Regions from separate parts of the Homo sapiens genome. Here regions 1, 2 and 3 are each linked to region 4. The links are contacts of gene promoters, found by promoter capture Hi-C in human tissues and cell types (Jung and others, 2019). All regions are on one chromosome and are shown on one strand. The core of a region is centred on a gene start or on the middle of the fragment in contact, and the rest is flanking DNA. Distances in the headings are between cores, read along the strand shown.

Region 1 (6,276 bases), core at 2,346-4,845, 35 kb before region 4:
GAGGGCGTGGTGGCGGGAGAGCCAAGAACAGCAGCTAGGTGTACTGCTTACCTGAGAAGGGGGGGTGGCCGCGAAGGGGGTTGGAGGCGTTGGGATGGGGGCCTAGTCAGACGCAGGTGGCCGCTGCCATTTGGCATTGCCCGGTCTGGAGGACAGGGAGAAAACCTGGCTGGAGACACAGCTGGTCACTGACTGCCTGAGTCCCTGGGGCCGCGGTGTGGGCGACCTTCCTGCGGGACCCGCAAGCCCAGAGCAGGTGCAGGTTGTGGGTACAGCTGAGGCAGCCGAAGGACCAAGGGGAGGGCCTTAGAAGGAGGGTGGGCTGGGGGCGCGGGGTGGAGACAGGGCTGTGCCTTCCTCCCAGCAGGTGGGTTCCCGACGGGTGGGCGTGCGTGCAGGGCCCCCGGCCCGAGAACCGGCCCCAGCCTCGGCGGGCGCGGGCAGCAGATGGCGCTGCCGGGCTGCGCTCCGCCTCGGGTTCGGGGAGCGCCGGGTGGGGGTGGCGGGCGAGCCCAAGTCGAAGCCCGAGGCGGGAGAAGAGCTCATACTACGTTCCCCGGGCCGGACAGGCGGGCTCCGGAGGGGCGCTCGCCCCGCCCATGCGGGACAGGTGTTTGCCCACCTAGGCCCCGGACCCGGAGCCGCGCTGCCCACGTGCTCGGAGCGGAGCAGCTGCTCCCCGCGCCCGCCCTCCACGCCAGCAGTGCCTGGGGACCCGGACCCGCGAGGGGCGCGCAGGACGCGGGAGCCGAGGAGCAGCGGCGCTTTGCGGATGGAGAGCGCCGCGGAGGGCAGTCTGGGAGTGGGCGCGGCCCCGCCGGGCGTGAGGTCATCGCGAGCAGCTGGCGCACCCCCCGCGCCTGCCTCCCGGTCCTCGGAGCCCCCGGCTGCGCCCCGCGGCGCGCGCAGGTTGGGCAGGTTCTGGGCTCTGGGCGGCGGGGCGTGGAGGAGCCCTGGGGCGGGATTGTGACTGGGCGCTTCCTGCGGGGTTGGCGGCCCGGACGCCGGTGCCACCCGAGCCACCCAGCGATGCTCTGGGCCCCCTACGTCGGGGCTGACCTCACCGCCCATCCTGGCGGACCCCGCCCGCTCTAATGGGACCGCGCCCACCCTACACTGGCCTGCAGCCGCCGTCCTCCCGGCTGCGGGTTCCTTGCCCTCAGGGAGGGCGGGGCCGCCACCAGCTGCCCGGAGAGGTGGGGGGACCCAAACCTCCCCTCGCCCACACCAACCCCGTCCTACTGCCCTCAATCCTGCCCCTCCTGGAGTTTCTTGTTACGGTCCACACAGGCGAAGGGCCCCATCGGCCGCGCCTTGCCAGCCCTAATGCCCTCCGAGAGGCGGAGGCCCCACAGTAGGAACCCGGACTGAAGTCACTCCCTGGCGCTGCTAGGGGCTCAGGGTGGAGGGCTCAAGGGTGTCCGGGAAGGGCCTTCGCCCTTCAGCCTCAAAGCCCCCCCAGTCCTCTGGTTTTCTGTTCCTCTTTTGGGCCCCCAGCTTGTGAGCGCCCGCTGGGTAGGTGGGCAAGAGGTGACCGAGCAGAACCAGGCACCGGGACCGTCCGGTTTGGGTCTGGCTTCCACACTGGCTGCAGTGCGCCCTGCCCCAGGCCGGCAAAGTCTCTGAGCCCCATTCCTGCCGCTGGCCGAAGGATTGGGTTGGGCGAGGAAGATATGGAAACTGCCCCACAAGCCCCCCTCCCACCCCCAGGACGCCGCCCCCACCGGCTAGGCTCTGGGCAGGCCTAGTGTCCACTGATCTCGCCAATCGGCCCTGTGTTCCAGGGCTGTCGGGGGTCTCCTGGGCCAGGGGCTTGACGGAGGGAGTGGGGTGGGGAGGGTGGAGAGGCACCGGAATCTCTTTCTGCTTGGGAGTGGGGGCGGGCGGATATCAGGAGGGGCCACTGCCCCGCAGATGACCCAGAGCCGAAGACCGCGGGCTGTGGCCAGCGCAGGCTCCACGCGCCCCGACCCTCGCGGCAGGGAGGCCCCGCCCACTGTTGGGCAGGTTCTTGACTTCACCCTGCTTCCCCAAACGTTTCCGGGTGCAAACGCCCCTCTGGGCTGGGGTGGGATGAGGGAGGGGAGCCCTAGAATGGAGTTTTGTTTTCCTCCTCTGGCATCAGGTGCTCAAGCCCAAGCTCCTCCCTCCACCCGCCTCTGGCCCTTCCCTGGCTTCTATTTCCAGCTCTCCTTGGCTATTTATAGCTGCGACCGGCCGGCAATTGCGTCAGTCAGGGGCAGGCTTCGGCCGGCGATGCCAACGGTGCCACCAGTCCCCCTACATTCCCCTACCCTTCCTGGGTAGTCACCTGCCCTGCGCTGTCCTGGTCGGAGGCCCCAGGTGTGTGGGGGGCGGGAGTGCGTTCTGCAGGTGCGCTCAGCCATGAGGGCGCATGTGCTGGGGCAGAGTGGGAGGGCACTGGACTTGGTGGGGGGGGGGGGCAGCAGAATTCCTGGCGGGGAAGGGGTAAGCGGCGTCTTCCCCTTTCCTTCCCAGAGCTTCCTCCTGGGAGCTGCCTGGGGACAGGCCACTGTTCCTTGGTTTCATGGGTGGTGTCTGCAAAGACTGGGAGAGATGCCCCTGGACCTAGCACCCGTCCCCCTCCCCCCGCCCACCTTCCAGAATGAAGGCCCTTCACTGAGTTCCTCTCCTCTCACCCCACTACTGAGGCCTCCCTCTCCCCAGCATTCTCACTCAACTCCAGTTCAGCTCCCATACCCCTTCCCTCCCTGAGGCCACCCCCAACCCAGCCCCTCTGGAGGGGGACATTGAAGGGTTCTGAAGCAAGACAAGTCTACCTGCTCAGTTTGGAAGGACTGAAGGGCATCCACCCAGGCACTTGCCTAGTGTTTGGCAAAGGCCTGCCCTGGCATCGCCCTGCTTGGGGGTGGGAGGCACACGCATGTTCCCCTCGCCCCACCAGGATCCCCTCTGAGCTCTGGTCCCCACAGTCAGGGACCACTCGCTTCACAAACAAGCCATCATCACGCCTTCAGGGCCTAGTGTCTTCCACAGAGGCTCCTACCCCAGGAGACCCATTCCCAGGGGCAGGAGTGGGGCCTGGGACTGTGGGCTGCCTTACAGGTCTAGACCCTCACCCCTGGGCCAGAAGGCTGTGCTTTCTCTGGAGGGACTGTGCCGCCGAGCCCCAGCTGCCTGCAGGGATAATTGAGTTTCCCCACGTGCTCCCACCATGGACACAAGGCATTTGTTGTGAAGCTCTGCTGAGAATCAGCCCCTCCTCTCCCACCCTCTGTCCAGGGCCCGCCCTGCCCTGTGCCCTGCGCCCTTCCGGGGAGGTTGGGGCACCCTCTGCTGGTGTCCATTGTATAGGCCCCTCAAAGACTCCATGGCTTCCCCTTAACAGCAAGTCCTCCCTTCATCTTGCCCACAAAGAACCACTCTTCTTAGACACTCCCCCAACCCACCTGCCATTCAGAGCCCCATCGAGATGCACCCTCTTCCCGTCGGGCCTTGCCTTGGCCAGAGGCCTTCAGCTTCTGCCTGGCTCCCCGCAGGGCGCTCCTACCTCTGCCTTTTCTCCCATGCTGTGGACCTTTGCAATGTCCTCCTGCCCCACCTGCCCCCAGCCCCTCCAAACACAACCTGGCCTTCAGAGGCCAAAACTCTCCTCCTGAAAGGCTTCCTGAGAACTGGCCCTCTGCCCTTTCTCCTGCTCAGTCTCTTCAGTTCTGAGCTCCGGAAGGGCCTTGGTAAGTCCATCCACAGGAGTACAGTGGCAGCTGGCAGGGGTGCCACTGAGACCAGCCTCCAGCTTACTTCCAGGGATGGCTCGGCAGGCAGAGGAATGGTGCCTGAGAGACCAGGAACCAAGCCCAGCCCCAACTTGGCCCCTGACCCTCTAAGGGACATTGACCAAGCCTGTTCCTCTCCCTGGGCCTTGGAGAGGGTCTCTCCTGTGATGTCCCACTCCAAGACAGTTAGTATGTGGCTTATTCATTGGACATTCACTGGGTACCTTCTGTATGCAAAGACCAGGTACCCATCTGCAGTCCAATGGAGAATGGAGGTAAGCACAAGCTGGCTTTAATGTAAGACTAACAGAAGTGCAACTAACGCAATGTAACATTATTACCCACCCACCTTCGCTCCCTCCCTCCCTCTCATTTACCCATTCTTCCACCTCCTATCCACCCCATCACTTCTCCACCCGTCCATCCATCTGTCCACCTTCCTTTCCTTCTACTCCCTAGCCACACATCTACTTGCCTATTTATGAATACCCATTTATGTATTCATCCATCCATCCATCCTATTCATTCCTCCACCCATTCATCCATGTACCCACCCACCCCACTCATCCCTCTACCCATTCATCCATCTGCCCATCCATCCATCCACCCACCCACCCCACTCATCCCTCTACCCATTCATCCATTTGCTCATCCATCCATCCATCCACCCACCCATCCACCCCACTCATCCCTCTACCCATTCATCCATCTGCCCACGTATCCATCCATCCACCCACCCACCCCACTCATCCCTCTACCCATTCATCCATCTGCCCATCCATCCATCCATCCATCCACCCACCCCACTCATCCCTCTACCCATTCATCCATCTGCCCATCCATCCATCCACCCACCCACCCCACTCATCCCTCTACCCATTCATCCATTTGCTCATCCATCCATCCATCCACCCACCCATCCACCCCACTCATCCCTCTACCCATTCATCCATCTGCCCATCCATCCATCCATCCACCCACCCACCCCACTCATCCCTCTACCCATTCATCCATCTGCCCATCCATCCATCCATCCATCCACCCACCCATCCACCCCACTCATCCATCTACCCATTCATCCATCTGCCCATCCATCCATCCATCCACCCACCCATCCACCCCACTCATCCCTCTACCCATTCATCCATCTGCCCATCCATCCATCCATCCATCCACCCACCCCATTCATCCCTCTACCCATTCATCCATCTGCCCATCCATCCATCCACCCACCCGCCCACCCCACTCATCCCTCTACCCATTCATTCATCTGCCCATCCATCCATCCATCCACCCACCCACCCCACTCATCCCTCTACCCATTCGTCCATCTGCCCATCCATCCATCCATCCACCCACCCATCCACCCCACTCATCCCTCTACCCATTCATCATCTGCCTATCCATCCATCCAACCACCCACCCCACTCATCCCTCTACCCATTCATCCATTTGCTCATCCATCCATCCACCCACCCACCCCACTCATCCCTCTACCCATTCATCCATCTGCCCATCCATCCATCCACCCACCCACCCCACTCATCCCTCTACCCATTCATCCATCTGCCCATCCATCCATCCATCCACCCACCCATCCACCCCACTCATCCCTCTACCCATTCATCCATCTGCCCATCCATCCATCCATCCACCCACCCCATTCATCCCTCTACCCATTCATCCATCTGCCCATCCATCCATCCGTCCACCCACCTGCCCACCCCACTCATCCCTCTACCCATTCATTCATCTGCCCATCCATCCATCCATCCACCCACCCACCCCACTCATCCCTCTACCCATTCATCCATCTGCCCATCCATCCATCCACCCGCCCACCCCACTCATCCCTCTACCCATTCATCCATTTGCCCATCCATCCATCCATCCATCCATCCACCCCACTCATCCCTCTCCACCCATTCATCCATCTGCCCCTCTATCCATCCATCCACCCATCCCATTTATCCCTCCACCTATTGATCCATCCACCCATCCACCCCACTCATCCCTCTACCCATTCATCCATCTGCCCACCCATCCACCCATTCATTGATCCATCCATCCATCCATCTACCCACCCACCCACCCCACGCATCCCTCTACCCATTCATCCATCTGCCCTTCTACCCACCCATCCATGCACCCATCCATCCATCCACCATTCATCCATCTGCCCATCCATAAATTCACCTATCCATCCATCCATGTCTCCCTCCCTCATCCACCCATCTACCCACCCATCCAAGACCCATCCAGCAACTAAAGCTCTTGTCCTGGGGGGAGACACAGCTGTAGGCAGGGCAACAAGCCTTTAGGGGACTCTACGTAGCAGTTGGAGGCCAGTCCACCAGTGTTCAACTCTTGCTTCACCGCCTACTTTGGGCAGCTCTTGGACCACTAGGAGCCTGATTGAGTTGGTAAATGAGACCCCCTCCTTCCATCTGGAGTCTTACACTGCCCCCAGGGTCCTGAGACCTATGTGCCCCAGATGGGCATCCTAGGAGAGGCCGTC
Region 2 (6,667 bases), core at 1,906-4,405, 52 kb before region 4:
CCCAGAAGTTAGAGGGAGAGAGAAAAGGCCTTGGTCTCTGAGGTGACCAGCCAGGGCCTCCTGAAGGAGGCAGGAGGACCAGGGCCTCCTAGAGCCCTCCTCCATCCAGAGGCAGGCTGTCCACTCTTAACCACTCCCACCCCCAGATCCAGGTGGCTCCGTGACTCCCTGACCAACAGAAGGTGGCTGAAAGGATGTATTGTCTTCCAGCCATTTTCATGATGGCTCTCCTGGGATGAAGGCCGTCCCGGCAGAGGCAAAGAGAGGCCACGTGGGGAGTCCTAGAGCCCAAAGTGTGGTCTGGGACCATGAGGTTAGCACTGTCTTTACAGTACCACAAAGGTGCCATGTGCCAAAGCCTTGTGGAAGCCACCTGGCCTGTAAAATTACAGCAGGATAAACACAGAACCTGACAGATCCAGCTCTCGAGATTTGCAAAAAGTAAAGCCACTCTATTTATTTGACTCTAGAAGATAATAGGTTTTTTTTTTAATTTTAAAAATATTACTTATGTTAAGATATACTGGGTTTTTAATTATTTCTAAATGAATTAAAGTTGTTTTACATTCTCAATTTTAATTTCTGAAAGATGAATATTCATAGCTCCATCATGTAAACTCAATAAGGACTTTTTTTTTAATTTTAGAGGCAGGGTCTCACTATCACTGAGACTGGAGTGCAGCGGTGCAGAGCTCACCGCAGCCTCAGCCTCTTGGGTTCAAGCAATCCTCCCGCCTCAGCCTCCCAAACAACTGGAACTAGAGGCATACACCATCACATCTGGCTAATTCTTTTTACTTTTTTGTACAGATGGGGTTTCCCTATGTTGCTCAGGCTGGTCCTGAACTCCCAGTCTCAAGTGATCCTCCCACCTTGGCCTCCCAAAGTGCTGGGATTACAGGCAGAAGCCACCATGCCCAGCCTCAACAAGGACTTTAAGGGGTCCTGAGAGCAAGAAGTCCAAAAACTCTGCTCTAGGGTGAGGATATAAAACTCTGCCTGGAGAGATCCATGTGGGGGAAACTGTGGCACCCCAGCAGACACCCATGACAGCAAGGCCCCTGAGGGCTGCCAGCCCAGCCACCACGGGTGGCAGTGCAGGAATAACCTGTGGGGCCAGAGCCCCACCCACCAGCCCACAGATGCGGGAAAGGTGATGAGGCCTCATGTTAGGCCCAGAAGTTTCAGGGTTGGTCACTCAGAAACAGGTGAGCAGGAACCACCCACGGCCAAGCCGGAGGCTGCTGAGCCATGCCCAAGATCAGAGACGCACGCGTCTGGAGCAGCGCCTGACACCTGACCCTGGTGGCTGACCATGCGGCCTGCCTGGCAGTCCTGGGCATGGGATGCACACCCGCACCCTGGCCCACCCAGGGGCAGAAGAGGGGACCACGAAGTTGTGTGTTTTCTGCTGAGAGCATCCACCAGAGCAGAGCTGCTCAGGAGGGCACACGGTGCTGCAGGCTGAGCATGTCACACGCAGAGCCAAGGCCGCCTGCTGGGAAGCCCACCGCTGGCAGGGAGCACAGCCTACGCACAGAATGATGCTCTCATGGTAATACTCCCCACGGAACCCTGCAGGGGTTCATTTTATTCTATATTGTCATCTTTTTTAACATTAAAAACTTGGCTACCGGTGACACTGATTATTTCTTTTAACCCACAATATTCATAAGATGGTTGCCAAATTGTAAGAGCAATCTGACCTGCCACCGAAGCCTCCTGAGCGCAGCCTGAGGTCTCCTTGCTGTTCCTCCTGTCCTCAGACTGTCCCCCATGCCCACATGAGCTCAAGGGCTTTGCTGGCACAGCTCTTCAGCTCAGAGGTTATCCAGGTGATACACAGCCAGGCTCACCAGTTCCTGCTCACAGAGGCTTCCCTCCCTGCCCCTTCGTCTATTCAACTGATACGGGAGCTGAGTCACATGCGCTCCTGCTGGCTAAATTTGACACAGCCCATTCATCAAAATATTATTAAAGACGACAATCGACTGAAAAATATTAAATAAAAACCCACGTGTCCCTGGAACCATGAGGGGGAGGAGGCAAAGGCAGCCCTTCTGAGACAAAGCACCAGGGAGCCAGGGCTCCCTCCATAGGCCTGCATGGCGAGTCCCCTCCCTCACCTCCGCAGGTCTCAGCTCAACAGCACCTTCTCAAAGAGGCCTTCTAGAGCTCCTATTCAAACAGCTCTCCCACGCACCCCCTCCAGGCACCCCATCCCACACCTCCTTACTCCCGTCCCCCTCGGCAGTGGGGAAGCTGCCCAGGGGTGGCTCCTGTTGCCTCTGTTCACGCGTGTCCGGAGCACTCAGAGCAGGCTGCGCGCATGCAGGCCTCCAACAGGAACCTGACTCAACCCAGATTCTCAGGCCCACACTCTTGTATTTCATGACACCACTGCTATGACAAATGGTCCTGTCACATGTGGCACAAAGAACAGGGCACGCAGCAGAAGGGCAGATGTGCCGGGAGGAGGAACCCAGAGCGGCCGCCCATGTAGAGGGCTGGCCGCAGGCTGTGGGGAGAGGCCAGGGCTGTGCAAGACAAACTCAACACAGACAAGCCATGCTCACGCCAGCAGCTTTCAACCCACGCCGGAGCTAATTTTATGCTCCTGGGCTCACGCCCAGGCCTGGCCCCAGGCTCAGGCATCTGGCTCCTCAGGGCCACCTGGCACCATCAGGCCTTTCCATGGGCTGAGGACAAGTCCCAGCAAAGCAGGAGTTAGGAGCTTCCGTAGACGGTGCAGGCCAAACCCCGAGACAACAGCCCCACCTGGGCTCCTGAGATTGCATTGCTGTGGGGATAGGGTCTGCCAGCCCACAGCCTGCACAGCCACCATGTCTGGAGGGGAAAAGGCGCTGCTGAAAGGGTGCTTGGAAGAAAAGTCTCCCAACCCGCAAAGGTCACGGGCAAAAGGGAAACAGCATGGTGCCTCCATGCTTTCCAACCCTCCAGCTTGCCTGCTTTCTGCAGGGAAAAGCTGCATACCTTTGTGGGAGCTCTTTGCCTCCCCGCCCACCACAGCGAAATGCTCGATGACACAGACCAAAATCACCACCACGCAGGGCGAAAAACAGGAGCTGCGGCACTTAACTCACTCACATTAACTAACTCACGTTAGCCCCGGGACATCCGCAAACAACTGCAGGGATGAATGAACAGACATTCCAGCCCAGGGAGCCGTGTGCGCTGGCAAAGGAGACCTTCAAAGAGAAGGGAGCCAGGGACAGCAACGCGACTGTGGCCACAGTCCACAGGCCAAGCAGTGCCACAGATCACACGTGGCCTGGAAGCCCTGCCCACCATCTCCTTCTTTTCTCTTTAAGCTTCCACATTTTGTTTGTTCCAATTGTTTCTACTTCCACTGAACACCAATGGGTGTGCCCCAGCCAGGAGAAATCCTGTGCAGAAAAAAACAAACATGGTGAAGGCAAAGAATGGGAGGCTCTTCTGGCCAAAGACAGACGGGAACAGCACACGCCCTTCCCTTCCAGACAGGTCTAGCACTGGCAGGAGGCTGCACAAGCAGTAATCACCACGGAGAAACAAAGGCCACGGCCCTGTGGCTCCCAACCAGCACTAAGTGGCCCTAACAAAAGTTGCAGTGGGCCCTGGTGTTTCTAACCCAGACCGCTGTGTGGACAAAGGAGAAACACTGGGGTGACAGGGGCATGGCACAGGGGTCCTCCCTCACAGTGGCCTCAACACCCCTCCTCCCGTACCGGATGACCGCAGCAGAGACCACAGCTTCCTCTGGAGAGGGGGTCTGGTGGTACACCAAGCCCCTGCTCGATCTGACAGCAGCACTTGGCAGGCAGACCCCTAGGGTGGCTGGCTTTCCCAGGGCTGGGAAGAGGCCCTCATGAGCCAGGACACAAGGGTGGCACTTGGTGGTGGCAAAGGTGGGGGCTGCGCTGTCTCAGATACACTCGTGATGAGAAACGCAGCCCTGCTGTCTACCAGCCCCCGACCAGGGGAGGCCGTCTGCAGCTCCCCTGGTGGGCTCACCCCCAGCTTCAAGGACACTTGTGCAAGGGTTCCTAGTAGTCAGTCCGAGCAGGAGAAATGGGAGGGGTGTCGCTAGGGGTTTACGGGGAGGCTCATTCTAAAAAGGGCTCCATGTATCCACGACCACTGCTTTTTTTTTTTTTTGAGATGGAGCCTCACTCTGTCACCCAGACTGGAGTGCAGTGGCGCCATCCCCACTTACTGCAACCTCCACGTCCCGGGTTCAAGTGACTTTCCTGCCTCAGCCTTCCGAGCAGCTGGGATTACAGGCACACGCCACCACGACCGGCTAATTTTTTGTATTTTTAGTAGAGACGGGGTTTCACCGTGTTAGCCAGGATGGTCTCAACCTCCTGACCTCGTGATCCGCCCGCCTCGGCCTCCCAAACTGCTGAGACTACAGGCGTGAGCCACTGCACCTGGCCGACCACTGCTCTTTTTAAGGTTAATTTGGAAACGGGAGGGATGATGGAAAACTTTTTTTTAAAGAAGAGGACTCTGAATGCAACACCACCCTAGGCAAACACCTCTGAAACCCAGGCCTAAGAGTGCCCTGGTGGAGCCCTGATGGAAAGAGGCTATTCCTGAAACCAGACCTTCCAGGGCTGCCCGCTGGAGATACAGCAGACCTGGGCCAGCCGGCTTCTCTGCTCACACCTCCGCATGTGCTGCTGCTTCTTCCTGGGCCACCTCCTTCCTCCTTCCCTCTTGGAAAAGCCCTTCATACCTGCTCTAACCGAGCCCCCTGCTTTTGGCCGCACTCACCCACTCCTCAATTCTCCTGCTGCCTGGGGCCCTTCTCTACCAGCCTGACAGCTCTAGGAAAGCGGGAATGGCTGTGTCTCCATCTCTGGACCTCCGCCCCAGCACAGAGCCTGGTACACGGCAGCCCATGAACTCAGGAATCTGGGGCCCCCGGCTGAGGAACAGGCCCAGCTCACTGTCCTAAAAGTCACAGTCACAAACCGCGGATCAGTGGTGGAAGGAGAGTGGCAGATGCACATCTCCCCAGGACGGAATTGCACTTGGTGATGAAGAGGACGGAGCTGCAGACACACGCAACGCCATGGATGGACGTTCGCAACACTGCGCCGCATAGGACAGGCACACAGCCCGTGTACTGGGATTCCATTTGCATGATTCAGCTCACCCACACAGATGGCGGGAGACTGGTGGCCGCCTCGAGGCTGGAGGTGGGGATGGGGAGCAGTGCCAGTGGACATGAGGCTTCTCTGGGGCATGATAGCAAAGTTCTCAAATTAAACTGTGGTGATGGTTACTCAGCCCTGTAATTTTACCAAAAATTATTTAATTGCAAACTTAAGTTAACTTTATGGTATGTAAATTATACCTCAATGAGGCTGTTAAAAGAACTCTAGAGATTCAAGCAAGTTCAGCCTGGGTGTCCTCATAATCAGAATCAATTGTCAACCACCAGTAACATCCTCCCATGCGGCAAAGAAAAGAAAGAAGAAAAACAAGGTCATCATCACTCCATTCACATTCCTGCAGAGACACACACTCACGAGATTTTATCTCGGTCAGAGAGGAGGACCCCTGAAGGCAGCTGGGAGAGCCAAGTTAGTAAGCACAAGCTAGCAGCCCCAAAGAGGCCCTCCCCACTCACCTGCAGTCTGTCTTCAATCAGAGCTGAGTCAGTAAGCACAGGCCAGCGGCCCCAGAGAGGCCCTCCCCATTCACCTGCAGTCTGTATTCAATCACCAGCACTGTGGTGCCACAGCCCGAGCCCGCTAACCCACAGTTCACCTGCTGCTTGGAGAGTAACCAGGGCACTGGTGTCAAGGCACCGTGCGGCCTCAGAAGGAGCCAGGAGAGCCCCAAGGAAGGGTGCCTGAGATACGTGCCCCCTTGCCCTGGCTGTGGCCAGCCAGAGAAGGTGCCTGGAGGAGAGGGGCCTTTCCCCACAAACTCCACCACACTGGGCCCTGTGCAGGGCCAGCAGGAGGGCGGCTACATTCCCATCAGTCGGGAGGGGAGGAAGTGTGTTTCCTCTCCTGTATTCCCAGATGCTCAGCTGCTCCTGGGCTGTGCGTTCCGTTGGGTAACACTGACTGCACACACACCTCTTCACAAATGCCTGTTGTCAGTTGAAGACAAGACAAAAGTTTCTCCTAAACTCCAAACAGTGTGTGGTAGAGTTCCTCCCTTCCCTAGCCTCCACAGAAACCACCGCAGCTCAAGCTTCTCCTCTCCACCTGCCTACAACTCAGTGGCGCGGGATGACATCCTGTCACTGGCTGCCCAGAATGGAACAGAGCTTGTATACAAAAAGTGGAAACCGCTTTCAAGTTACAAATTACTCTTTGTAAAAGGAAGAAAGAGAGAAAAAAAAGTTTACCTTTACAGCTACTTCACCAGCAAACTCAAAGCAATGCCAAGCAAAGGAAACCTACGAGAAAGAGATGGTGGAGAGCCATGCCTGCAAACCTTCTCCGGAAAAGCCCCAGCCACGCTCATCATCACCAGTCCTGACGTGCTGGGCTCTGTTCCGGTTTCCCGAGCAGGTTTCCCTGCAGGGCCCCCGTTCCTCAGGAGCGGCTAGGAGTGCTGATGATAAGGCTGCTAGAATGCTCAGCAGGCCAGGCTCTTAGCTCTTCTCCCAGTGACAAGGAAGACATGGCTTTTCACTTGC
Region 3 (6,579 bases), core at 3,402-5,901, 44 kb after region 4:
GTGGCTGTCAGGGCTGAGGAGGGTGCTCATAGCTAGCTGCTCCTAGATGCTCCTCGGAGAGGTCATAAACCCAAAGATAGGGGATCAATTTCTCCAAAAAGGACAAAACCAAAACATGACCCAAGAACATGGTGACAAAACGTCCTTCAAATAGAAGAAAACAGGAACACAGCCTCCAAAATGGCAGAAATCTAAGACGACAGCACCTGGGACTCGGGAAAATCATATGGACCCTACACAATTGGGATTCATTCCAATTAAAGGAGTGAGGCAGGGATAGGCAAGGCAGGAAGGGCTGAGGACAGTAGAATGAAGACCAACATTGAGTAATTAACTACACGGGCGATGGTGAGTTACGGAGCCCACCTGCATTCCCAGAGAGAAAAATTAACCTGATGACATCTCTGCTCTCCACCTCCTCAGGCCCCTTCCACAACCTCCAGGTGGGTGGGGGTTAGAGCCATGGAAGGACCCGGTGACCTAGGGCAGGGGTCCCCAACCCTCAGGCCACAGTCCATGGCCTGTTAGGAACCAGGCCACACAGCAGGAGGTGAGTGGAAGGCGTGCAAGCATGACCTCCTGAGCTGCACCTCCCGTCCCTTCAGCCGCCACATTCGATTCTCATAGGAGCCAGAACCCTACTGTCAAGTGCGCACGCGAGGGATCTAGGGTGCGTGCTCCTTACGAGAATCTAACTAATCCCTAATGATCTGAGATGGAAGAGTTTCATCCTGAAACCAGCCCCCACCCACCCCCTGGGTCCGTGGAAAAATTTTCCTCTACAAAACCGGTTCCTCGTGCCAAAAGAAGGTGGTGGTTGCTGCCCTCGGGTGCTCTTGAAAATGGCCCTGCATTGTGGCTGGGCTGCTGTCTCCCTGGTGGGCGGCGATCCTGGCCCCTCACCACACCCGTGGGCCAGCACTGTCTCTACCATCTCGTGGGTGCTACTGTTTCCATACTTTTCTTATTTTTATATTTTCCTTTTCGTAGGCTTTTAGATTCTCTTTTCTTGCTTCTATGGACTTGCTGAAGCTTCTTTCTTCCTTTCTCCTCTTTTTCTGCTGGTTTGCACTGATGTTTTTGTTTCTACTTTTCCCCAGTGGTGACTGTGAACATTTTAACATGCATGTTTAACGCAGTCTGAGATCAGCCACTATCTTCCCCTGGCCCCTCACAGAGGCAGGTGCTCCCCTCAGACTAGCATCTCCTGTGTCAACCTGAGTGCCGTCCAGTGTTTCAGATCCGCCTCCTTCCTGTACCCCCAGCGAGTCATGAGCATCCTACCCTTCATTTCTTCTTTATATACAGCACATTTACCTTCACGAGAACCTCATACTTCCTTCCGGAAATTATCAATTTGAAGAAGACACTTCTGTCCCTCAGCTCATGGTCAGGCACGCCATAGCTAATTGTTACACCTGCTGAGGTGGACGTGTGAATTCTCTCCCTCAAGGCACTTTTGTAATGAGTTACAATGATACATTTCCTGACGGTGAGCCATCTTAACATTCTTGGAACAAACCCTACTTATGACTTGCTATTTTTAAATAATCATATTGGAGTCTTTAATATTTGATTCAGAAATTGTGTGTATTTGTTAATAACGAAATGAAGTTAAAATTTTCTTGTGTTTTACTGGCCTTACCTTTTTCTTTTTTCTTTTTTTTCTTTTTTGAGACAGAGTCAAGCTCTGTCACCCAGGCTGGAGTGCAGTGGTGCAATCATAGCTCCCTGCAGCCTCGACCTCCTGGGCTCAAGAAATCCTCCCACCTCAGCCTCCCGAGTAGCTGGGACTACAGGTGTGCGCTCACAGGCCCAGCTAATTTTTGTACATTTTTGTAGAGATGAGATATCACTATGTTACCCAGACTGGTCTCAAACTCCTGGGCTCAAGTGATCCTCCCACCTCAGCCTCCCAAAATGCTGGGATTGCAGATGTGAGCACCCACACACAGCCCTTTTCATTCTTCTCTGTCAGGCCCCAAATGTTCCTGGGTGGTTCTGGCTGGGGGTCTGAGGCTGCATCCCCTGAAGGCTCGGCTGGTATTGGACCCACTTCCAGGATGGTACATGCCTTGGCTTGTGGGTGGGAGGCCTCAGCTTCTCACCTGCAGGCCTCTCCACAGGGCTGCTATTGGCACAGGATCTGGCTTCACCCAGAAGGAGTAGTACTGAGAGAGAGAGAGAGAGAGAGACAGAGAGACAGAGAGAGACAGAGAGAGAGGCAAGTGTTGTACCACCCTTCATGTCCTAGCCTCCAAGCCCCGTGCCATCATGCTGTCTGCCGTCTTCGTCGCGAGAAACATACTGTGCTGCTGGCCTTCTCCTTGTTGCTTCTTCTGCAAGTCCTTCTGCTGGAGCCTTCTCTGCTGTGCGGCATCAGCCAGCACTTTACTATCCCAGGAAAAACCGCCCCTGAGCCTTCCTCTCATCTGAGTGTGGTTTCAGGTGGTGGAGGAGTGAAAATCTGTGGGGTCAGCCTAGCTCGTTTTAGGAGGAGAAATCCTTCCAGCTCTCTCTTACCTGGTGCCCCCTTTTCTGTTGGGTTCTTGATCTGGAGCCTACAGATACAGGTGGACATCAGATCCTGTCTGGATACTGCACAGTTTTATGTAAAGTTGTGTGTTTTTGTGCATGTTTGTAGACTTGTTTAAAGAGAGGCTCTGTAAAATTCCACAGAGGAATCTACGAACCCACAGTAGTTAAGAATGGGTCTGCAGAGGTAGTTCCTAATGTGGAGCACAGGAGCAAAGTCTACAACATACTCATGTCTGCTTTACGCTGAAAAGGTGAAAAAAATTAAAATTAACTAAAATTAAAATAGCAAATGACTAGACAGGAGCATATGCACCTTATATAATACACACATTTCAGGGGGCATTTGCTCAAAAGCTACATAATCGTGGGGTGCCCCACGGGACAGGGTGAGACCACTGCCATGTTGATTGTTCCATCAGAGCATTGTAAGAGGCCCTCTGATGATCCTCTTTGCCCAATTCAGCGAACCCGAAGGTCATCAATGGACCACGAAGAACAAAGGCCCATGAAAGGGAAGATGTTCCCAAAGTACAAAAGGAAAAGTCCTCTTGTACCCGAGGGAAGGAGCTGATCCAAGGGTGTCACTAGGAGTCAGCGCGGGTGTTGATACATTACTTCAGGGGCTGGAGGCAAATATACGAGGTACTGGAAGCAAATGTATCAAGCACTGGGACAAATGTATCAGGCGCTGGATGCAAATGTATCAGGCACTGGATGCGAATGTATCAGGCGCTGGATGCGAATGTATCAGGCGCTGGATGCGAATGTATCAGGCGCTGGATGCGAACGTATCAGGCGCTGGATGCGAATGTATCAGGCGCTGGATGCGAATGTATCAGGAAGCAAATGTATCTGTTGCCTCTGTTCCAGAGCTGGAGGATGCCGCCTCTGGTGGGGACAGCCAACACAAGGCGGCTCTCTCCTAATGGGTTTTCTGTTCCTCCCTGAGATACAGTCCCCTGCCCCAGAACAGAGTGGGGCTCCAGCATACACGGCAAGAGTCACCGAGTGCCAGCTGGTGTTTACACCGTGGCCTGAGGCCTGTTGACTGGGCTCGGGGCACTCACAGGTATTGTGGTCACGGGGGCAAATGGCCATCCGGTTCCCTGCTCTCCACCGGCTTTCTTTAGCATCCAGTGGGCCTGCACCCGAATGTAGTTGCTGCTTCCCAGGCTGAGCCCGGGACCCGGAGCAGGCGGGCACCCAGACAGGGCATCCTCTTCCGCTCACTGGCCCTGAAAGGGCCTCTGCCATCAGCCTGTGCCGCTGTCCGGGAGCCCCTGGGCCGGCCACGCAGTGGGGGAACCCGCTTCACAGCGACACCGTGCGGCGGCAGGAGGAACCGCTGCAGGAGACAATGCGATCTGGGTCCTGACCCAGCGCAGAGGCAGTGTCTGCCCCTTGCAATGCTTGGATTTCCTTCCTCAAAAGGCAGCCTTCGATGATCTGAAATTCAAGTTCCAGCAGGCATCCTGTACTGTATCTGTCAGCCCTGCCACCCGAGTGGTCTGAAAGCCCTGGAAGAGACCGCGGTTATCACAGGAGAACACTTTCCATGGGGAGCACGCAGCAAGCTCCAGAATAAGCGCTTAAAATCCCCGTCTCAGTCAACACTGCAAACCTTCCAACAAAGTCTTACACCGAAAACGACCCTGCTGAGCTGAGGGCTGAAGCCCCAGGTCCTGGGACCCTTGGAAACAGCCCGCGGGCCAGGAGCTGCTGTGGACCGTGAAGGTGTAGGGCCTAGGCACGTCCCAAGCAAGACACGATGCTCCCGCAGAGGAATCTTCCCGGGAGCAAGCCAGGAGTCCTGGGCTCAAAATCACCCTCGGCAAGACCAAGGCCTCTGAGCGAGCCACTGCCTGCCCATCGCTTCCTTCTTGTCACATGGAAAGGGAAACTCACCGCGGGGCCAGTGTTTACTGAGGGGCCGCTTCCATCACAGACCTGACAGCACATTCGAGAAAAGTGCGAGGAAAACAGGAGTTATTTATAAAAATGTAAAGCAGAAGAGAATACTGGGACCAGTGGCACAAGCAGGAACCAGGAAGTGACAGTGTGCCCAGCCTCTCACCTGACCCTGGACAGGGATATAAAGAGCCCGGGCTCAGGGGGCTCCACACCTGCACCTCCCTCTCACCTGCTCCTCTACCTGCTCCACCCTCAATCCACCAGAACCATGGGCTGCTGTGGCTGCTCCGGAGGCTGTGGCTCCGGCTGTGGAGGCCGTGGCTCCGGCTGTGGGGGCTGTGGCTCCGGCTGTGGAGGCTGTGGCTCTGGCTGTGGGGGCTGTGGCTCCGGCTGTGGAGGCTGTGGGGGCTGTGGCTCCGGCTGTGCGGGCTGTGGGGGATGTGGCTCCGGCTGCTGTGTGCCTGTCTGCTGCTGCAAGCCCATGTGCTGCTGTGTGCCAGCTTGTTCCTGCTCCAGCTGTGGCAAAGGGGGCTGTGGCTCTTGCGGGGGCTCCAAGAGAGGCTGTGTCTCCTGTGGGGTGTCCAAGGGGGCCTGTGGCTCCTGTGGGGGGTCCAAGGGGGGCTGTGGCTCCTGTGGGGGGTCCAAGGGGGGCTGTGGCTCCTGTGGGGGGTCCAAGGGGGGCTGTGGCTCCTGTGGGGGGTCCAAGGGGGGCTGTGGTTCTTATGGCTGCTCCCAGTCCAGCTGCTGCAAGCCCTGCTGCTGCTCCTCAGGCTGTGGGTCATCCTGCTGCCAGTCCAGCTGCTGTAAGCCTTACTGCTGCCAGTCCAGCTGCTGTAAGCCCTACTGCTGCCAGTCCAGCTGCTGTAAGCCCTGTAGCTGCTTCTCAGGCTGTGGATCATCCTGCTGCCAATCCAGCTGCTACAAGCCCTGCTGCTGCCAGTCCAGCTGCTGTGTCCCCGTGTGCTGCCAGTGTAAGATCTGAGGCTCTGACTGCAGACTGCAGGTGGCCTGACTGGTGAAGGGCCCGGCTGCCCAGCTTCCTTGCCCTGGGTTCTCTGGTGCTCCACTGTCTCCACTGTGTCCTCACTGGCTTCATCCACTCCACACCAGTGCTCCCGAAACTGACTGAGGACCCCTTCTGGCTCATTGCCTACTACTTCTCCTGAACTTCCTCTCCCTGCTCCTCACTCATTTAAGATCCAAAGCGGCCCACTGAGGCCCCAGAGGCAGATCAGACCCCTTAGACCCTGACAGCTGCTCCTTCTTTCAGGAGTGTGATCGACCCTCAATCTCTCTGGCTGTCTGTATATCAAGACTGAATCCTGACCCTCTAAATAAACAAAGTCTCTAAGCACAAAGCTCACTGTCTTGTGGTTCTCTCCTTCCCACCTCTCTCTCATTCCCAGAAGCACCATCTTCTTGCCTCCACCCCTGGGCCTGTTCCCATTTCTCTCCCCTCAGCATCTTTCATGTCATGGTCCATGTCTTCATGCACAGAACTAACGTCTATAGCTTTCTGCTCTGGGCCCCTTGTTGTGTTGGGCTCCAGAGATGACAGAGCAGAGTAAATCCAAGCTCACAGTCTGGTATGTGGGGAGAGGTGGGGAGAGGGAAAGGTGGTGAGGGCGGTGGTGTCAGCCGTGGAGGCACTGCCGTCCCGTGGGAGGGAGGGAAGCTCAGGGCCAGGCCACTTCAGCGGAAGGATGAGGAAGGGTCTGTATGCTGAGCTGTGCGGTACATCAGGCCCTAAGAAGCCCCTAGTGCATGCAGGAGCCAGACGTGGAGATGCGGAGGAGCTTGGGCTTATCTGCAATCTCACAGGGCCTTGAAAAACCAGACAGGAGAAGGCAGGACTGCACACAACGCCAGCTGCGGGACACAAGCTCGAAGGCAGCCGGGAGTTGAATAGATCCCCACCTCCAAAAAAAAATTCCAGAGCTGGGGGAGCCCAAATGCCCAGTGCCTTCTAAGGCAACCTAGCCTGGAGACAAGCTTTCTTTCAGCTTTTATTTTGGGTTCAGGGCTGCATGTGCAGGCTTGCCATATAGATGAATTGCATGTCATGGGGGTTTGGTGTATAGATTATTTCATCAACCAGGTAATGAGCATAGTACCCAATAGGTGACTTTT
Region 4 (6,478 bases), core at 1,556-4,055:
CCTCCCCAGAAATTTGCAAATGTCCCAGTTTTCTGCTCCAGCCCCTGTGGTTGCCAAGAGCCCTGCTGGGTATTTCTCCCAGTAGAATTCCTCTTCCCCAGTGGGACCGAGGCTCAGCTCATACCCAGCACTGGTTAATTCCTTAAAGGGAGAGAAGCCGACATTCAGCTCATCTTGGAAGGGCTCTCTCTGAATGTTTTCATCTGGTTCTTGTTGCTTCTACAGTTCTCCAATGTCTTTTTTATAGATACATTTTTCCGGTATTTCAAAATTGTGGGCCGGATGCAGTGGCTGACGCCTATAATCCCAGCACTTTGGGAGGGTGAGGCAGGTAGATCACTTGAGGTCAGGAGTTTGAGACCAGCCTGGCCAACATGGTGAAACCCCATCTCTACTAAAAATACAAACAAAACAAAATTAGCTGGGCATGGTGGCTCATGCCTGTAGTCCCAGAAACTCAGGAGGCTGAGGCAGGAGAATAGCTTGAACCCAGGAGGCAGAGGTTGCAGTGAGTGGAGATCACACTACTGCACTCCAGCCTGGGCAACAGAGTGAGACTCCATCTCAGAAAAAAAAAATTGTGGTAAGATACATACGGTAGGATTTCCTGAAGTTATTTATTTATTTATTTATTTATTTATTTATTTATTTATTTTACCATCTGAGTTCTGTAATTAATGTGGCCTTCTCTGGTTGCTGCAATGGGATTGCTGACCTTCCATATACATCCCCTCTGGAATGTCATATTTGCATTCTTCTGGCTTTTTTTGTTTGTTTTTTGTTTTTTTTGAGACGGAATCTTGCTCTGTAGCCCAGGCTGGAGTGCAGTGGCGCGATCTCGGCTCACTGCAGCCTCCGCCTCCCGGGTTCACACCATTCTCCTGCCTCAGTCTCCTGAGTAGCTGGGACTACAGGCGCCTGCCACCATGCCCGGCTAAATTTTTGTATTTTTAGTAGAGAGGGGGGTTTCACCGTGTTAGCCAGGATGGTCTCAATCTCCTGACCTGGTGATCCGCCCCCCTCGGCCTCCCAAAGTGCTGGGATTACAGGCATGAGCCACCGCACCTGGCCGCCGGCATCTTTAATTCAGACTGCCAGCTTCCAGAACCCTGAGAAATACACTTCTGTTGTACATGCCAGTCCATGGTGTTCTGTTACATCAGCCCAAAGAGAATAAGACCGCGTGGTAACAGGCCATGATGACCCCCTAGTGATTGCTTTTGCCTGATCAAGGCAAGGCACCCCCGCCCTGAGCCAGATGCTGAGAGGGTGTGGTAGAGGCTGCACGGCAAGGGGCTGAGCCAGGTGGCTGCTGGTGCTCCTGCCTCTGACCGCCACCATGTATCCAGGATCCCTGCTGGCCAGGGCGCCCACCTGCCTGCTCCGGTTTGGTTCAGGGCCGGTGTGTGTGTGTGTGTGTGTGTGTGTGTGTGTGTGTGTGGTTCCCAGGGGACCCAGTGTAGCCACAGATGCCCCCCACCTGCCTCGAGAGGGAAATAAACATAAATATACCAAGACAGCTATGGGGTGCTGGGGTGAGCGGTTTATTGGATGTTTAAAGGACAGAGATCTGAACTCCTAGTGACTGCAGAGTGAGCAAGCACCCTGGGCTGTCCTGCAGGGCTGTCCGTGCTGGATGTGGTGCCAGCAGGCAGGGCTTGCGGATAGGCATTTGCTGCAGGTGGCTGGGGCGGTGGGGGGCTGGTCTCCAGATGCCTGGAAGGGAGGCCTTGAAAGTCATTCTTCTTGGATGCATGGGCCCATGGCATTTCTTGGTAGAAGGTCAAAGAGAAGTGTTCATGCTTGGCAAGGCAGGAGGGTGGGAGATAGGGTAGTGGGTGGGGAAGGAGAGTCTGGCTCACTGGGTGCCAGGAAAAGGAGGTAAAGGCTGGGCAGGAATGCCTGGCCATGGTAAGAGTCCTGCAAAGCCAGAAATCAGATCTTGCACTGGCAGCACACGGGGACACAGCAACTGGACTGGGAGCAGCAGGGCTTGCAGCAGCTGGATTGGCAACAGGATGACCCACAGCCTGAGGAACAGCAGCAGGGCTTACAGCAACTGCACTGGGAGCAGGATGACCCGCAGCCTCCCTTAGACCCCGCGCAAGAGCCACAACTGGAACAGGAACAGCAACACACGGGCACACCGCAGCCGGAGCCACAGCCCCCACAGCCGGAGCCACAACCCCCCTTGGATCCCCCACAAGAACCGCAGCCCCCCTTGCAGCCTCCACAGGAGCCACAGCCCCCCTTGGAGCCCCCACAAGAACCACAGGCCCCCTTGGAGCACCCACAGGAGCCACAGCCCCCTTTGCCACAGCTGGAGCAGGAACAAGCTGGCACACAGCAGCACATGGGCTTGCAGCAGCAGACAGGCACACAGCAGCTGGAGCCACATCCCCCACAGCCGGAACCACAGCCACCCTTGGATCCCCCACAAGAGCCACAGCCCCCCTTGGAGCCCCCACAGGAGCCACAACCCCCCTTGGATCCCCCACAAGAGCCACAGCCCCCCTTGCAGCCTCCACAGGAGCCACAGCCCCCCTTGGAGCCCCCAGAAGAGCCACAGCCCCCTTTGCCACAGCTGGAGCAGGAACAGGTTGGCACACGGCAGCACACGGGCTTGCAGCAGCAGACGGGCACACAGCAGCTGGAGCCAGAACCTCCACAGCCAGAGCCACAGCCCCCACAGCCGGAGCCACAGCCCCCACAGCCGGAGCCACAGCCCCCACAGCTGGAGCCACAGCCTCCGGAGCAGCCGCAACAGCCCATGGTTCTGGTGGATTGAGGGTGGAGCAGGTAGAGGAGCAGGTGAGAGGGAGGTGCAGGTGTGGAGCTCCCTGAGCCTGGACCCTTTATATCCCTGCCCAGGGTCATGTGTGAGGCTGGGCACACATTTCCTGGTTCCTGTTTGTGCCATTTTTAGGGCCCCTTTTTCTTGTTTCCTCTAGAAATCCGCCCCTTGGTGTATGGGCTGCTCAGTGGGCTGCTGCTCTCTTGCTGAATCTGTGTCCAGACTTAATGGAGGCCCCCAAGGGTCTAGCCTCTCCCTGTTGACTCCAGAGTCACACTGGATTTACAAAAGCATCTATTTTAGGCTGGGCATGGTGGCTCACACCTGTAATCTCAGCACTTTGGGAGGCCTAGGCAGGTGGATCACTTGAGGTGAGGGGTTGGAGACCAGCCTGGCCAAAATGGTGAAATCTCGTGTCTACTAAAAACACAAAAATTAACTGGGTGTGGTGGCTCACATCTGTAATCCCAGCACTTTGGGAGGCCGAGGCAGGTGGATCATTTGAGGTCAGGAGTTGGAGACCAGCCTGCCCAACATGGCAAAACCCCATCTCTACTAAAAATACAAAAATTAGCCAGGCATGGTGGTGCATGCTTGTAACTCCAGCTACTTGGGAGGCTGAGGCAGGAGAATGGCTTGAACCCAGAGGTGAAGGTTGCAGTGAGCAGAGATCACACCACTGCACTCTAGTGTGGGCAACAGAGCGGGACTCTGTCTCAAAAAAAAAAAAAAAGTGATCTATTTTAGTTGAACGATGGTATAAAGAGTAATATATTTAAAAAATGTAAAAAAAAACCCTACTCAACTTGGGAAAAAATGGCATAAATAAATGAAGTCTCTGTTCCTCCATCTCTCCATATTGTTTCTGTCCCACCCTAATAATTTCTTGAATTTGGAATTCACCACTCTCATGAAGGTCCTCACACTCCTACTTAATATGTATGTTCCTTTAAAAATGTTTTGTGGCCAGGCGCGGTGGCTCACACCTGTAATTTCAGCACTTTGGGAGGCTGAGGTGGGCGGATCATTTGAGTCCAGGAGTTTGAGACCAGCCTCACTAACATGGTGAAACCTCGTCTTTACTAAAAATACAAAAATTAACCAGGTATGGTGGCATGTGCCTGTAATCCCAGCTATTCGGGAGGCTGAGGCAGGAGAATCGCTTGAACCTGGGAGGCAGTGGTTGCAGTGAGCTGAAATCACGCCATTGCACTCCAGCCTGGGCAACAGAGTGAGACTCTATCTCAAAAAAAAAAAAAAAAAAAGAAAAGAAAAAAGAAAAAAAAATTTTACATGCTGAAAACTTTATGTAATGGGTATTACACTGTATTTCTCTTTCTGTAAATTGCTTTTGAAAAAAATAGGTGTTAGGCTAAAGAGATTTTCTCTAGGGATACATATGGTTTTAATTTATTTGTTTTCTCTGATTTCTAAATATACATTGACTTATCCATTTACTTGTTGATGGACCTTTTGTTTCCTTTTTGTTGCTATTTCAAGCAAGCTGCAACTTTCTTGCCCAAAACCCCTCCTGCAGGTGTGGGTGCCTGAAAGTCAGGAGGTTCTTGTTACCAAGCTGTCTTCCCAAGGGATCCCCCCAGCCAGCTGCTGTCCAACCAGCATTGCCAGAGAGCTCCTGTTTCCTGGCACCCCCACCAAAACTTGCAACTGTCAACTTACACCCTTCATGTGGGTGTGTAACACAGTGTTACACACTGTGGTTTAATATTCCCTCTTCCTGGTTACTAGCCATGCTGTGCCTCTTTCCATATGGTCACCTGTCATTAGAGTCTCGTTAATTTCACGTCCTTGGCCCACTTTACAAAATTGAGATAGTTATTATTATTAATTTTTGAGATGGAGAGTCTTGCTCTGTCTCCCAGGCTGTAGCGCAATGGTGCGATTTCGGCTCACTGCAACCTCCGCTTTCCATGCTCGAGCAATTCTCCTGCCTCAGCCTCCCGAGTATCTGGGATTACGGGCATGTGCTACCACACCTGGCTAATTTTTGTATTTTTAGTAGAGTCAAGGTTTCACCATGTTGGTCAGGCTGGTCTTGAACTCCTGACCTCAAGTGATCCACCCACCTCGGCCTCCCAGAGTGCTGGGATTACAGGTGTGAGCCACCACACCTGGCCAAGATCATTATTATTTTTATTGGTGTCTGAAGTTCTTTGAATTTTCTGGATTCTTTTATTTTGAGATGGAGTCTTGCTCTGTTGCCAGGCTGGAGTGCAGTGGCATGGTCTCGGCTCACTGCAGCCTCTGACTCCCTGGTTTGAGCAATTCTCCTGCTTCAGTCTCCCCTGGGATTACAGGCACGTGCCACCACACCCAGCTAATTTTTGTATTTTTAGTAGAGACAGGGTTTCACCGTGTTGGCCAGGCTGGTCTCCTGACCTCATGATCCACCTGCCTCAGCCTCCCAAAGTGCTGGGATTACAGGCGAGAGCCACAGCGCCCAGCCTTTTGTTTCTTCTTCTTCTTCTTCTTCTTTTTTTTTTTTTTTTTTTTGAGACAGAGTCTCGCTCTGTTGCGCAGGCTGGAGTGCAGTGGTGTGATCTCGGCTCACTGCAACCTCTGCCTCCGAGTTCAAGCAATTCTCCTGCCTCATCCTCCTGTGTTTCTTCTTAACATAGATGTCATTTATTCTAAGTTTTTCAAATTTATTGGGATGTACTTTTCATAGTTGCCTCTGTTTTTGAAGATGGGATCTTGCTATGTTGTCCAGGCTGGGGTGCAGTGGCCGTTCACAGGCACCATCATAGCTCACTGCAGTCTCGAACTCACGCCTGGCCTCAAGTGGTCCTCAGCCTCTGAAGTAGCTGGGACTACTACAGACTACCACATTTGACTACTACAAATCCCTACCGTGTGCCACCACGCCTGGCTTAGTAGCCTGTTATTTTTAATAGCTGCTAAATTTGTCATTATTTGCTTTCTTTTCTTTCTTTTTTTTTTATGGCAGGGTCTCACTCTGTCACCCAGGCTGGAGTACAGTGGTGTGATCTCGGCTCACCACAACCTCTGCCTCCCGGGTTCAAGTAATTCTCCTGCCTTAGCCTCCCGAGTAGCTGGGATTATAGGCACCTGCTATCATGCCTGGCTAATTTTTGTATTTTTAGTAGAGATAGGGTTTTGCCATGTTGGCCAGCCTGGTCTCGAACTCCTGGCTTCAGGTGATCCACCTGCCTTGGCCTCCCACGGTGCTGGGATTACAGGCGTGAGCCACCGTGCCCAGCCTATTTGCCGTTTTTCATCCCTGCTTCAGGTTATACATGCTCTTTCTCCTGCCCGACCCTTTTTTTCCTCATTGGTTTTGCTAAATATTGTTGATTTTCTTTGTCTTTTGAAAGACCAGCTTTTGATTTTGTTGATTCTGTTTGTTGTATGTGTTAAACATTTTTATTTAGTTCTGCTCATATCTTTATTTTCTCCATTGTTCTTTTTGCACTTTCTAAACATGCGGGTGCTGGGGTGCGTGACTGTCTGCTGGACGTGGACTGTCAGGCCAGGAGGCGTGCGATAGAGAGTCACTGCCATCTGGGCTTTCTATCTGTCCCTCCTTCCTTCCCTCCCTCCCTCCCTCCCTTTTCTGCAGTCATTTTCATTCAGCTTCTTTCAGCCTTTCTGCAAGCTTCTGGGTGAGGTAACTACTGTGGGGCTGCTTTAAAAGCTCCCATA

The links. Contacts are between HindIII fragments. The study calls those that stand out against the background at their distance.
Region 1: a fragment that was not itself captured here is called in contact with the fragment with the promoter of KRTAP5-1 in region 4 in 1 of the 25 tissues and cell types used here (mesenchymal stem cells).
Region 2: a fragment that was not itself captured here is called in contact with the fragment with the promoter of KRTAP5-1 in region 4 in 1 of the 25 tissues and cell types used here (mesenchymal stem cells).
Region 3: the fragment with the promoter of KRTAP5-5 here is called in contact with the fragment with the promoter of KRTAP5-1 in region 4 in 1 of the 25 tissues and cell types used here (mesenchymal stem cells).

Annotation. Positions count from the first base shown.
Region 1 is chr11:1,546,335-1,552,610 of GRCh38, forward strand. No RefSeq gene overlaps it. Among named protein-coding and RNA genes, the nearest start is that of DUSP8, 23 kb to the right of the region's middle. The HindIII fragment of the contact is 8,025 bases long and covers 1-6,276 here.
Region 2 is chr11:1,529,727-1,536,393 of GRCh38, forward strand. No RefSeq gene overlaps it. Among named protein-coding and RNA genes, the nearest start is that of DUSP8, 39 kb to the right of the region's middle. RefSeq lists an enhancer at 2,294-2,794. The HindIII fragment of the contact is 3,238 bases long and covers 1,537-4,774 here.
Region 3 is chr11:1,625,124-1,631,702 of GRCh38, forward strand. It overlaps KRTAP5-5 (keratin associated protein 5-5), which reads left to right and starts at 4,652. Exons shown (of 1, transcript NM_001001480.3): 1 at 4,652-5,807. The coding sequence starts at 4,718. The coding sequence ends at 5,431. The HindIII fragment of the contact is 7,029 bases long and covers 1-6,579 here.
Region 4 is chr11:1,582,478-1,588,955 of GRCh38, forward strand. It overlaps KRTAP5-1 (keratin associated protein 5-1), which reads right to left and starts at 2,806. Exons shown (of 1, transcript NM_001005922.1): 1 at 1,865-2,806. The coding sequence starts at 2,772. The coding sequence ends at 1,936. All of the region lies in intron 1 of KRTAP5-AS1 (KRTAP5-1/KRTAP5-2 antisense RNA 1), which reads left to right. The HindIII fragment of the contact is 15,838 bases long and covers 1-6,478 here.